Linked DNA regions of Homo sapiens: region 2 is linked to region 1. Evidence: promoter capture Hi-C in human tissues and cell types (Jung and others, 2019). All regions are on one chromosome and are shown on one strand. The core of a region is centred on a gene start or on the middle of the fragment in contact, and the rest is flanking DNA. Distances in the headings are between cores, read along the strand shown. Region 1 holds the start of TP53INP2 (tumor protein p53 inducible nuclear protein 2). Region 2 overlaps RBM39 (RNA binding motif protein 39).

Evidence for each region. The method cuts DNA at HindIII sites, captures the fragments that hold promoters and counts their contacts. A contact is called where the count stands out against the background at its distance.
Region 2: a contact is called between a fragment that was not itself captured here and the fragment with the promoter of TP53INP2 in region 1, in 1 of the 25 tissues and cell types used here (dorsolateral prefrontal cortex).

Annotation. Positions count from the first base shown.
Region 1 is chr20:34,701,712-34,706,784 of GRCh38, reverse strand. TP53INP2 (tumor protein p53 inducible nuclear protein 2) reads right to left here and starts at 2,441. Exons shown (of 5, transcript NM_021202.3): 1 at 2,273-2,441; 2 at 1,311-1,427. LOC105372599 (a long non-coding RNA gene) reads left to right here and starts at 2,603. Exons shown (of 2, transcript XR_936690.3): 1 at 2,603-2,648; 2 at 2,972-3,126. RefSeq lists a silencer at 2,166-2,645. The HindIII fragment of the contact is 10,895 bases long and covers 1-5,073 here.
Region 2 is chr20:35,733,170-35,738,033 of GRCh38, reverse strand. The region is part of intron 3 of RBM39 (RNA binding motif protein 39); the gene reads left to right. Among named protein-coding and RNA genes, the nearest start is that of RBM39, 6.7 kb to the left of the region's middle. The HindIII fragment of the contact is 5,614 bases long and covers 1-4,257 here.

The DNA.
Region 1 (5,073 bases), core at 1,192-3,691:
TTTCTGCTAATCCACCTGCAGTATTGCCATGCTTATTGCTACCTCCCCCATTCCCTAGAAATGTTTTCACACTTGCTGCAGAATCACCTCACTTCCATACCCTGAGAATATTTCCACATCTGCAGACTCACAGTAGGCTTAAGATGCTGGCTTCTCTGGTGGGATGGGGGTGGGAGATCTACAGGGATTAAGAAGGTGGGGCCACCCCCAACTAGTGTCCACCCAGCACAATTCATGTATCCCAACCCATATGTAGCCACAGGGAGCTAGTGACTCCATTACCAAAAGCCCAGAAAGTTTGGCCCCTCTTGAAGGAAGGGAATATCGAGGCCTTGATGAGGCACATCCTCCTTCCAAGAACCTACTAATTCATGGAATATGAAAGAGAAGTTAAGAGCTGTTTCAGGGACCATCATATTCACCCAGCCCATTTTAAAATCTGATGATCAGAAAGAAGACATAAATCTATCCAAAAATACATGGCTAGATAGTGGCAGGGCAGACCTAGTCCCACGTTACTGTGCATCCAGTCCAGAGTGTACACAGTCAGGAAAGACTCAGCAAACAATCCCCAAGAATACAATGATGCAGGGGTACAGGGAGGTGAAAAAGACCTTGACCTAGCCACACCACCCCTCGCCTAGCTACAAAAGGGTCTGGGGTTACTGGCACCAAGATTTAGCATGCATTTACTGAAGACCCACTGTGTACCAGAGCCTGCACTGTGCCTCCCCAAATTTCAGATAGGTTTAGGGGAGGGAGGCTCAGGGGAAAAGCTCCCTGCCTGAGGTCACACAGCAAGTCAGTGACAGCCAGGAGTGAAAGCAGTCACCAGCCAGCCAGTGCCTGCCCCCTCTCCTGACCACTTGGGGAGCCTCCCAGATTTCCTTTCCCAGCCCTGCCAGCTTCCTGGTTCTCACATTCCCAGTTCTGCTCCAGGGAGAACCATTCCCTTTAATAACTACAGCAGCTCTGCCCAGAATAGCATTTGTGCCCTAAGCCACCCCTACCCCCAGCCCATCCTTGAGCAAACTCCCAGCAGGAATGGAGTTCCTGGTTCAGCCTCTAGGCCCATCCACTTGTTAAGTCAGAAACTCTCCTTATCCTATCCCTTCTCCTATACTCTCTGTGGGCAGAGGTGACGAGGGAGCAGCAAAACACCTGCAATTGTCTGCACTAGGCCAGGTCAGGCCCTTCCTAGCTGACGACCTAGGAAGTTGGGAAGGTAAAGGGCCAATAGAGGGAACCCTCACCCCACCCTCCACCCCAACATCAGCCCTGGAGACACCCCGAGGCAGCCAATGACTCACCTCTCTGTGATCCAAACAGCTGGGAGGCAGCGATTTTATTGGACTCTAGGACTTCAAGGTACAGTGAGGACAGAAGGGGTCAGGACCACAAAAGGTGAACCAATCTCCAGAGATTCCCTGGAAAAGGGTCCAGGAGTAAGGACACCTAGGAGCCTATCAAACCGTGATAAGGCTGAGCCCAAGATCGGGTCCCCAGTGGAAGGAGGATGTGTATCTTACCACTTGTACTGAGCCCCTATTATGTCTTTGCCCCTGGCTAATAATCCATCTGTCACTCAGTGAGCATGACTCTAATTGGTTATGTGACCTCGAGAGAGCTAATCCTCCTCTCTGGGCCTGTTGCCCCTTCCATGCACTGGGGTCTAAGACCCTTCATTTTGGGTCTAGGAGTGACATCAGCTAAGGCGCTGCACACAAATCAGGGATTAGGAGGATGTTATTCTGTTAGTCCCTGGGGGCGGAGTCTGGAGCCGGAGGGAGGGGATCCCACCACCATCTGGTGCTGTCCCAACCACCTGGAGTCCCATGCAGCCCTGAACTCCTGACGACCCCCTCAACCTAGGCCCAGCAGCGCCGTCTGACTCCTTCTCAGGTTGCAAAGAGAAAGTAGGGGATCAGAGGCCTGACCCCAGCCCCTGGATAAGCCTAGGAAATCGCCGATCCCCCTGCAGCCCCCTTTGGATTGCAGCGTCTCACCCAGGGCCCAGCCCCGACACAGCGGCTACCGGGTCACGGGAGGACAAGCGACCCGAGCCTGTGGGGGCGGTACCGGCCTTGGTGACGTCTCAATGTCATATGCAAATAGAACGACGTCATGGTCTACCGGGCGTGCGGCAACCAATCGGGAGCCGGGAACGCGGCCCCGGCGGCCGCCGGCGGAGACAGACAAAGGCCCGGGCGCGGGGGGCGCAGGGCGTGTCCGTGGCAGGGGAGCCCCCAGGCCCACCCGGGTCGGGACTCACCTGGGGGCGGGAGGGGGGCGGCACGGCGTTGAGGTAGTTGTGCGGCGGGGCGTCCCAGGGTCGCCGGCCGCTCACAGGCCGGGCCGCATCGCCGGGACTCGCGGGGGAGGCGGCGGGGCCGCGGTCGCTCCGGGCTGCTGAGCTCGCCCGCGGGGCTTTGAGTCTGTGCGGCCGCTGCGGCGGGGCTCACGGCACAAATTGGAACGTTCAAACAGCTGATTGTGACGTCACAAAGGGGCCCGCCCGCCTCGCGTCACCGGCTGGCGGGGCGGCGGCCAATCCCGGGCTGCGGATCCCCCCCTGCCCCTCCCCTCCCCTCCCCTCCCGGTTTGCGGGCCGGGCGCTCGGGCCGGGAAACGTTCTCGGAACCGGGAGGGTGAGTGTTCGGGGAGGCAGCTGCGGGGAGCTGGGAGCCCTGCGCCGCGGCGAGCTCTCCGCGAGGAGGATCTCCACTCCCTCCTACCGGCTCCTTATTTTCCTGATTCTTCCCGGATCGCAGCGCCCTCACCTCTCCCACTGCTCCCCAAATCCTTTCACTGCATCCTATATCCAAGTCCCCCGATGCGGACCCTGTTCTCGACCCACACCACGTCCGTGCACCTGCATTCTCCCCACTGCCCTTATTCCTGCTCTCCCTCCCCCCTCTGGCTCACCTCCTCAGCCTTACACACTCTGCTTTCCCACCCCGTTTTTCCTCAGCTCGGCGGGCTTGAGAAAAGAGGGACATCCCCAACCCCCGGTTCCCGGGGAGCATCTGGGAATGTAGAGAAGTTAGTGAAGCTGACGTGAAATTTCGCAGAGTAGGACTTGGAGAGGAATTGCCCTGGGCTGAGTAAACATTGACCTGAGACGGCTCCGCGCTTGAACGTTTACATACCTTATTTAATCTATGTTGCTACCGGGGCTGTAAAGAAGTGGCAGGACAGGGACTGATTATGAGTCCTGATTTACACGTGGGAAAGCTGAGTCTCACAATCTCACTGTTAGCGTGTGAACTCATGTTCAACAATGCATTCAACATTTATTAGGCACCTACTATTGCACCACCATACCACTAGCTGACATGTATTGGCACACTTACTGTGTGCCACGACCTGTGCTATGGGTGTGTTTTTTTATCTTCACAACAACCCAAAAGGTAGATATTGTCCCGTTTAACAGTTGAGGAAACAGACTCAGAGAGCTCAAGTGACTTTCTTAGGTCACAAAAGTACAGTCAATGGCAGAGCCAGGATTTGAACCCATAGCTCCCAGCCCTGACCCTCTCCATTCTCTACATGAACCAGATGGTCTAAACCTCAGGGCGCTTTAGCCTCCCCAGAGTCCTGGCTTTCAGTCCTGACTGTGCCCTAGACTTGCTGTGTGACCTCAAGTCATGTTACCTCTCTGGGTCTCAGTTTGTCAAACAAACATATCCAGGCTTCCCTCTAGAGCTGCCATTGTAAGATTCTTCCACACTCTCTGCCCTCAGGATTCCACCCACCCCACGCTCTAGGCCCCAGCTCTCCCAGTGGCCTGGGAGATGCCCGAGAAGAGACCACAAATACACATATCAGAATCTCCAGGGCCAGAGGTTCTAGGTCAGCAGAGCAGGGCTGGTGGGGGAGGGTCCGAGAACTGCCCACCTAGCCCAAAAGGAGGCCGGAGGTGACCTAGGCCAGAGGTTAATGATCTAGTGATAAAACTTTTTTTTTTTTTTTGAGACGGAGTCTCGCTCTTGTTGCCCAGGCTGCAGTGCAGTGGCACGATCTCGGCTCACTGCAAGCTCCGCCTTCCGGGTTCACGCCATTCTCCTGCCTCAGCCTCCCGAGTAGCTGGGACTACAGGCGCCCGCTACCACGCCCGGCTAATTTTTTGTATTTTTTGTATTTTTGTATGTTTAGTGTTAGCCAGGATGGTCTCGGTCTCCTGACCTTGTGATCTGCCTGCCTCGGCCTCCCAAAGTGCTGGGATTACAGGCGTGAGCCACCGTGCCCGGCACTCTAGTGATAAAACTCTATCCCAGCCTCATCTGAAACCCCCAAGGGACTCCTTAACCCTAGCGACAGGGGAAGAAGCCAGAAAAAAATAACCCAAGGCTGAGGGGTGGAGAGGGGAGTGGCATTGTGGCCCTTGGAGTGTTATACCCAAAGTGTCCTCATTCCATGCAACTCTGAGCCTCTGCCCATCACAGCCACTTCCTGCTAACCTCATACCCTTTCAGACCTACTTGCTGACTTTAATTAAATAATCCCTAACACGTCTCTCCTGTCAAGCCACTTGTTTGTTCTAAAACCTGATGTGGCTCCTAAAGCCCCACACTCCTAACACAGAACTCATGCCCCCCATGCTCCGGCCCCAGTTCTCTCCAGCTTCACCTCCCCTTCTCCTACACGCATCTTGTGCTAAAGTCAAACTCCTTGTTGACTCTACAGCACTCTCCCACCTCCACCCTTTTGCTCAAGCTGTTTCCCCTGCCTGGAATGCCTTCTTCAGAACTTTCTGAAATCCAGATCTTTCCTGTCTTCAAGATTCTACTTGGCCAGGTGTGGTGGCTCACAGCCATAATCCCAGCACTTTGGGAGGCCAAGGCAGGAGGATTGCTTGGGGCCAGGAGTTTGAGACCAGCCTGGCCAATATAGCGAGACCACTTATCTGCAAAAAATGAGAAAATTAGCCAGATGCCATGCACCTGTAGTCCCAGCTGCTTAGGGAGGCTGAAATAAGAAGATCACTTGGGTTTAGGTTACAATGAGCTATGATCAAGCCACTGCATTCCAGCTTGGATGACAGAGCCAGACCCTGTCTCTTAAAAAAGAGAG
Region 2 (4,864 bases), core at 201-2,700, 1.0 Mb before region 1:
AGGCGCGCGCCATCACGCCTGGCTAATTTTTTTTTTATTTTTAGTAGAGAGGGAGTTTCACCGTGTTAGCCAGAATGGTCTCCATCTCCTGACCTCTCATGATCCTCCTGCTGTGGCCTCCCAAAGTGTTGGGATTACAGGTGTGAGCCACCGCGCCTGGCCTTTTTTTTTTTTTTTTTTTTTTTGACACGGAGTCTTGCTCTGTTGCCCAGGCTGGAGTGCAGTGGTGTGATCTCTGCTCACTGCAAGCTCCGCCTCCTGGGTTCATGCTATTCTCCTGCCTCAGCCTCCCAGGTAGCAGGGACTACAGGCGCCTGCCACCATGCCTGGCTAATTTTTTGTAATTTTAGTAGAGACAGGGTTTCATTGTGTTAGCCAGAATTGACCTTGTGATCCGCCTGCCTTGGCCTCCAAAAGTGCTGGGATTACAGGTGTGAGCCACCGTGCCCAGCCTCTGTCTTTATTTTTTCTTTGAGACAGAGTTTCGTTTTTGTCACCCAGGCTGGAGCGCCATGACACGATCTCAGCTCACAGCAACCTCTGCCTCCTGGGTTCAGGCAGTTCTCCTGCCTCAGCCTCCCGAGTAGCTGGGATTACAGGTTCCTGCCACCACGCCTGGCTAATTTTTTTTTTTTTTTTTTTTTGAGATGGAGTTTCAGTCTGTTGCCCAGGCTGGAGTGCAGTGGCGCAGTCTTGGCTCACTGCAACCTCTGCCACCCGGGCTTAAGCGATTCTTCCGCCTCAGCCTCCCGAGCAGCTGGGATTACAGGTGCCTGCCACCGCACCTGGCTAATTTTTGTACTTTTGGTAGAGATGGGGATTCACCATCCTGGCCAGGCTGGTCTTCAACTCCTGACCTCGTGATCCACCTGCCTTGGCCTCCCAAAGTGCTGGGATTACAGGCGTGAGCCATCATGCCCAGCCAATTTTTGTGTTTTTAGTAGAGACAGGGTTTCACGATGTTGGCCAGGATGGTCTCCATCTCTTGACCTCATGATCCGCCCGCCTTGGCTTCCCAAAGTGCTGGGATTACAGGCGTGAGACATGGACCCAACTGAGACTCCGTCTTAAAAAAAAAGTCTGGGCTTGGCGTGGTGGCTCACACCTGTAATCCCAGCACTTTGGGAGGCTCAGGCGGGTGGATCACAAGGTCAGGAGATCGAGACCATCCTGGCCAACATGGTGAAACCCCGTCTCTACTAAAAATACAAAAATTAGCTGGGCGTGGTGGTGCACGCCTGTAGTCCCAGCTACTCTCGGGAGGCTGAGGCAGGAGAATCGCTTGAACCTGGGAGGCAGAGGTTGTAATGAGCTGAGATTATGCCATTGTACTCCAGCCTGGAGACAGAGCGAGACTCCGTCTCAAACAAACATAAAAATCTGTCATACTTACGACCTTATGTTAATGAAAAACGAGAGAAAAATAGCCATTTATTTGATTTCTTTTTGGCTCTTTTCCTCCTAAGATCCCTAAATGCTTCATAGTAAGTATGTCAGTCTTTCTCACTACAACTGTGTTAGGTAGGTTGATAAAATTTCATAAAACAGATGAGAAAATATATAATGTTATTCAGGGCTTGTTAAGCCACTATTTTTTTTTTTTGTAGTTCCCCTAAAATAATGTGGTAATGGATTAAAAATGATATAATTTGTAGAAAATGTGCTCCTTTTTTCTGGTATAAGCTTGGATGGGAGTCATTTATAGTTCCTCACCAATCACAAGAAATTGTGGGGATCAGGTTGGGTTTAGTCTTGATGTGGGATCTGATGCAACCAACCAGAGGTATGGTTTATGTCATCTGGTTTTAGACTTTCTGCCACAGTAATGGTTTCCTAATGTTTTTGTTTTGCAATTCTCTAATCAAAAGAAAACCCAGGAAGGTGTATCCATATAAATTGACATAAATTATCCAATTTAGGTGTCAGGCCGAGTGGCTAAAGATTTCGCTTCAAGTGCCAGAAGGATAAGAACGTACACTTTTGGGTACAGACCTTCGTTACTGTACCATTGTCTCATGTCGCTTTTTGCCACTAAGGTCATCTCCGGTGTCTACTTGTTTTTATCCTGTGTATAAGCTGATTAAGGCTACAAGCTTTTACAAGGAAGCTGAGCATCAAGTTCTCCATGTGTGATATTCGGTGGCCTTTGTCTAATGTAGAGAACCACAGGACTAAATAGGAGAATGGACAATTTTCTTTAACCATGAGATTGTCTAAGGGAAGATCCTTTCAAAACACTTTGGTAATCTTAAAATACTTTCCAGTCAGACTTCTCGTCAATTATAGGTGATAAATAAATGATTCCCTTGTTCAATCAGGACTCTTGATTTTCTGAAGGAACTTTATGTTTCAAATTAATTTTAAAGTTACCTGGAAGAAAATTTTTGTATTTAGGAATAGATATAAAACATACAGAACACTCTGCTTTAAACCTTTAGTACTAAATTAAATTTCTTAACCAAAGGAAAGTGCCGTGTTGCATTTTTCATTCTAAAACTTCATTGTCTTAAAAGCCACATTGAGCTATAGTTTGTTAGGTAGTAGAAAAATGGCATGTTCTGAGAAACAGTTGACTGAGTATAAATTTTTTTAATTGTATAATTCTGATTCTTAACATACACTTCATAGTATCCTAGAATAGTAAAAGGAACAAAGTTATTGTGACACAGACTGGTTGTCAACCTATTTTCTGAAGAGCTGTAAACCTGAGTTTTTGCATATGTCAAGGTATGCATCCTAAGTGCTTGAGCTTGCCCTCATGGGAATATTATTTGTTAAAGTAACCAGTTTTGCAAAGTCTAAATCAGCGTCCATTCCGTTAAGCTCTTTAGAGAATTACTCAATAAAAGATAACATTAAAATGACACAGTTGAAATATATTGGCTACTGTGGTGTGGATTATCTATAAATTTTGGAATAAATGACTTTTCTATTTTTTTTCTTATTTTCCAGAATACTTTGCATTAAAAATTTAGATCTTCTTACATGGAAGAGGTCAAATCCAGTTATAGCAAAACACCTTTACTGCAGAGGCCATATAACCAAAAAGTCCAAAGGCCCAGCCCAGTGGACCATTTACTTCAGTGATGTTCAGTACAAAATTTCACTGCCATTAAAGACTTTGGAAAGTCCCTTTTAAGTTGTAACAGGATTTGACTATTAGTGTGGATTTCGATAACCCTTCTTTAGTTAATGTAATAAATGCTCTTTGAAGCTGGAAATATACTGGTTTCTTGCACCCTTGTAGTTTTCTCTGGGCTTTTATGCAAAAGATTGTATTTTCTGAATGTCTTAGTATGTTGCTGTCTTTTTACCTGCCTGGGGTTGCCTTCAGATGTGGGTGAGGACTTGTTTACAAAAAGTCCTAGAAGACCTTAAGTTAAAATTAGCTCTCCAATTTTCAAGTGTTTTCTTTTGGCAGAATAAGTTTTGGGTCCTATGAGAGGTAAATAGGTTGGTTGCCTCTCTTGCTATAGCCCATCTAGAGCAGAACAAAAACTTTGTTTTTGAGGGGGATGGAGTTACTTTTTACCTTGTTCCCTAATTGAATATATTTAGGACTTTTGGTTTTAGAAATCTCAGAGTTCTATAGTTGGAATAGTGTCACAGAGATAGTGTTAGGTTTCTTAGGCAACAAAATTGGAGTGTTACCTATTGCCCATCTGGGCATGGCTTTGATGAGTTCTATATAAATAATGAGTGTAGCCTAATTTTCTGTCATGTGCTACCTAGCATATACATTTCTGACAGTCAGGTGGATTATCTTGAAATTTTAGACAAACTTTCTGCCTCCTTGGAAAGCTCTACATCTCCTTGTGATTGGAGTGTGGGTTTCAAGATTCCAGAAGGTGGGTGTCTTCATTTTCTATTTTCAATGCACTCTAAAGATGACCTGCTTACAGGTTCTCTGAGGCAGACCTCAGTTGCTCTTGTGATATGTAACTTTGCTTTGATAAGGAATAAACAATTACATATCCAGATAATGATACAGAATTGTCAAAATGTTTAATCATTAAGCCACTACAAATAGACATTTTCGTGGAATAAACTGATTTTGAAATGTCTTTCAATTTATATTGAAATATCTGAAGGCACCTCTAAAATTTGGGTGATGACACAGAGGTATAGATTATAAGATTTAATTATGAATGGGTGGTATACTGTGAAGACTACGGAAGTGAGCAGAAAGATATGTTTGGCTTTTTTGGTTTTTAGTTAGAGATTTTAAAAAGGTCTGTGAAGGTCAAGTTGATCATTGGTTTTGATTGCATCCCACAGGTTTCTATAAACTGGCTTAAAAATGGCATACTCCATTTTCTGGTGTATTCATTGTAACTTTAGGAAGTATTTGAAATGGTCACATTAAAGTCTAGGAATGTCAAATTGTATTTTAATGCGTTAGTTCTTTTTCTTTTTCTTTTTTTTTGGAGACAGTCTTGCTCTGTTGCTCAGGCTGGAGTACAGTGGCATGATTTCGGCTCACTCCAACCTCTGCCTCCCAGGTTCAAGCGATTCTCCTGCCTCAGCCTCCACAGTAGCTGGAACTACAGGCCTGTGCCACCACGACCCACTACTTCTTGCATTTTTTAGTAGAGATGGGTTTTCACCGTGTCGACTAGGCTGGTCTTGAACTCCTGACCTCAGGTGACCTGCCTTCCTCAGCCTCCCAAAGTGCTGAGATTACAGGTGTGAGCCACCGCACTTGGAGTTGGGTTTTTTTTTTTTTTTTTGAGATGGTGTTTTGCTCTTTTTGCCCAGGCTGGAGTGCAATGGCATGGTCTCAGCTTGCTGCAACCTCCACCTCCCGGGTTCAAGCAATTCTCTTGCTTCAGCCTCCCAAGTAGCTGTGATTACCGGCATGCAC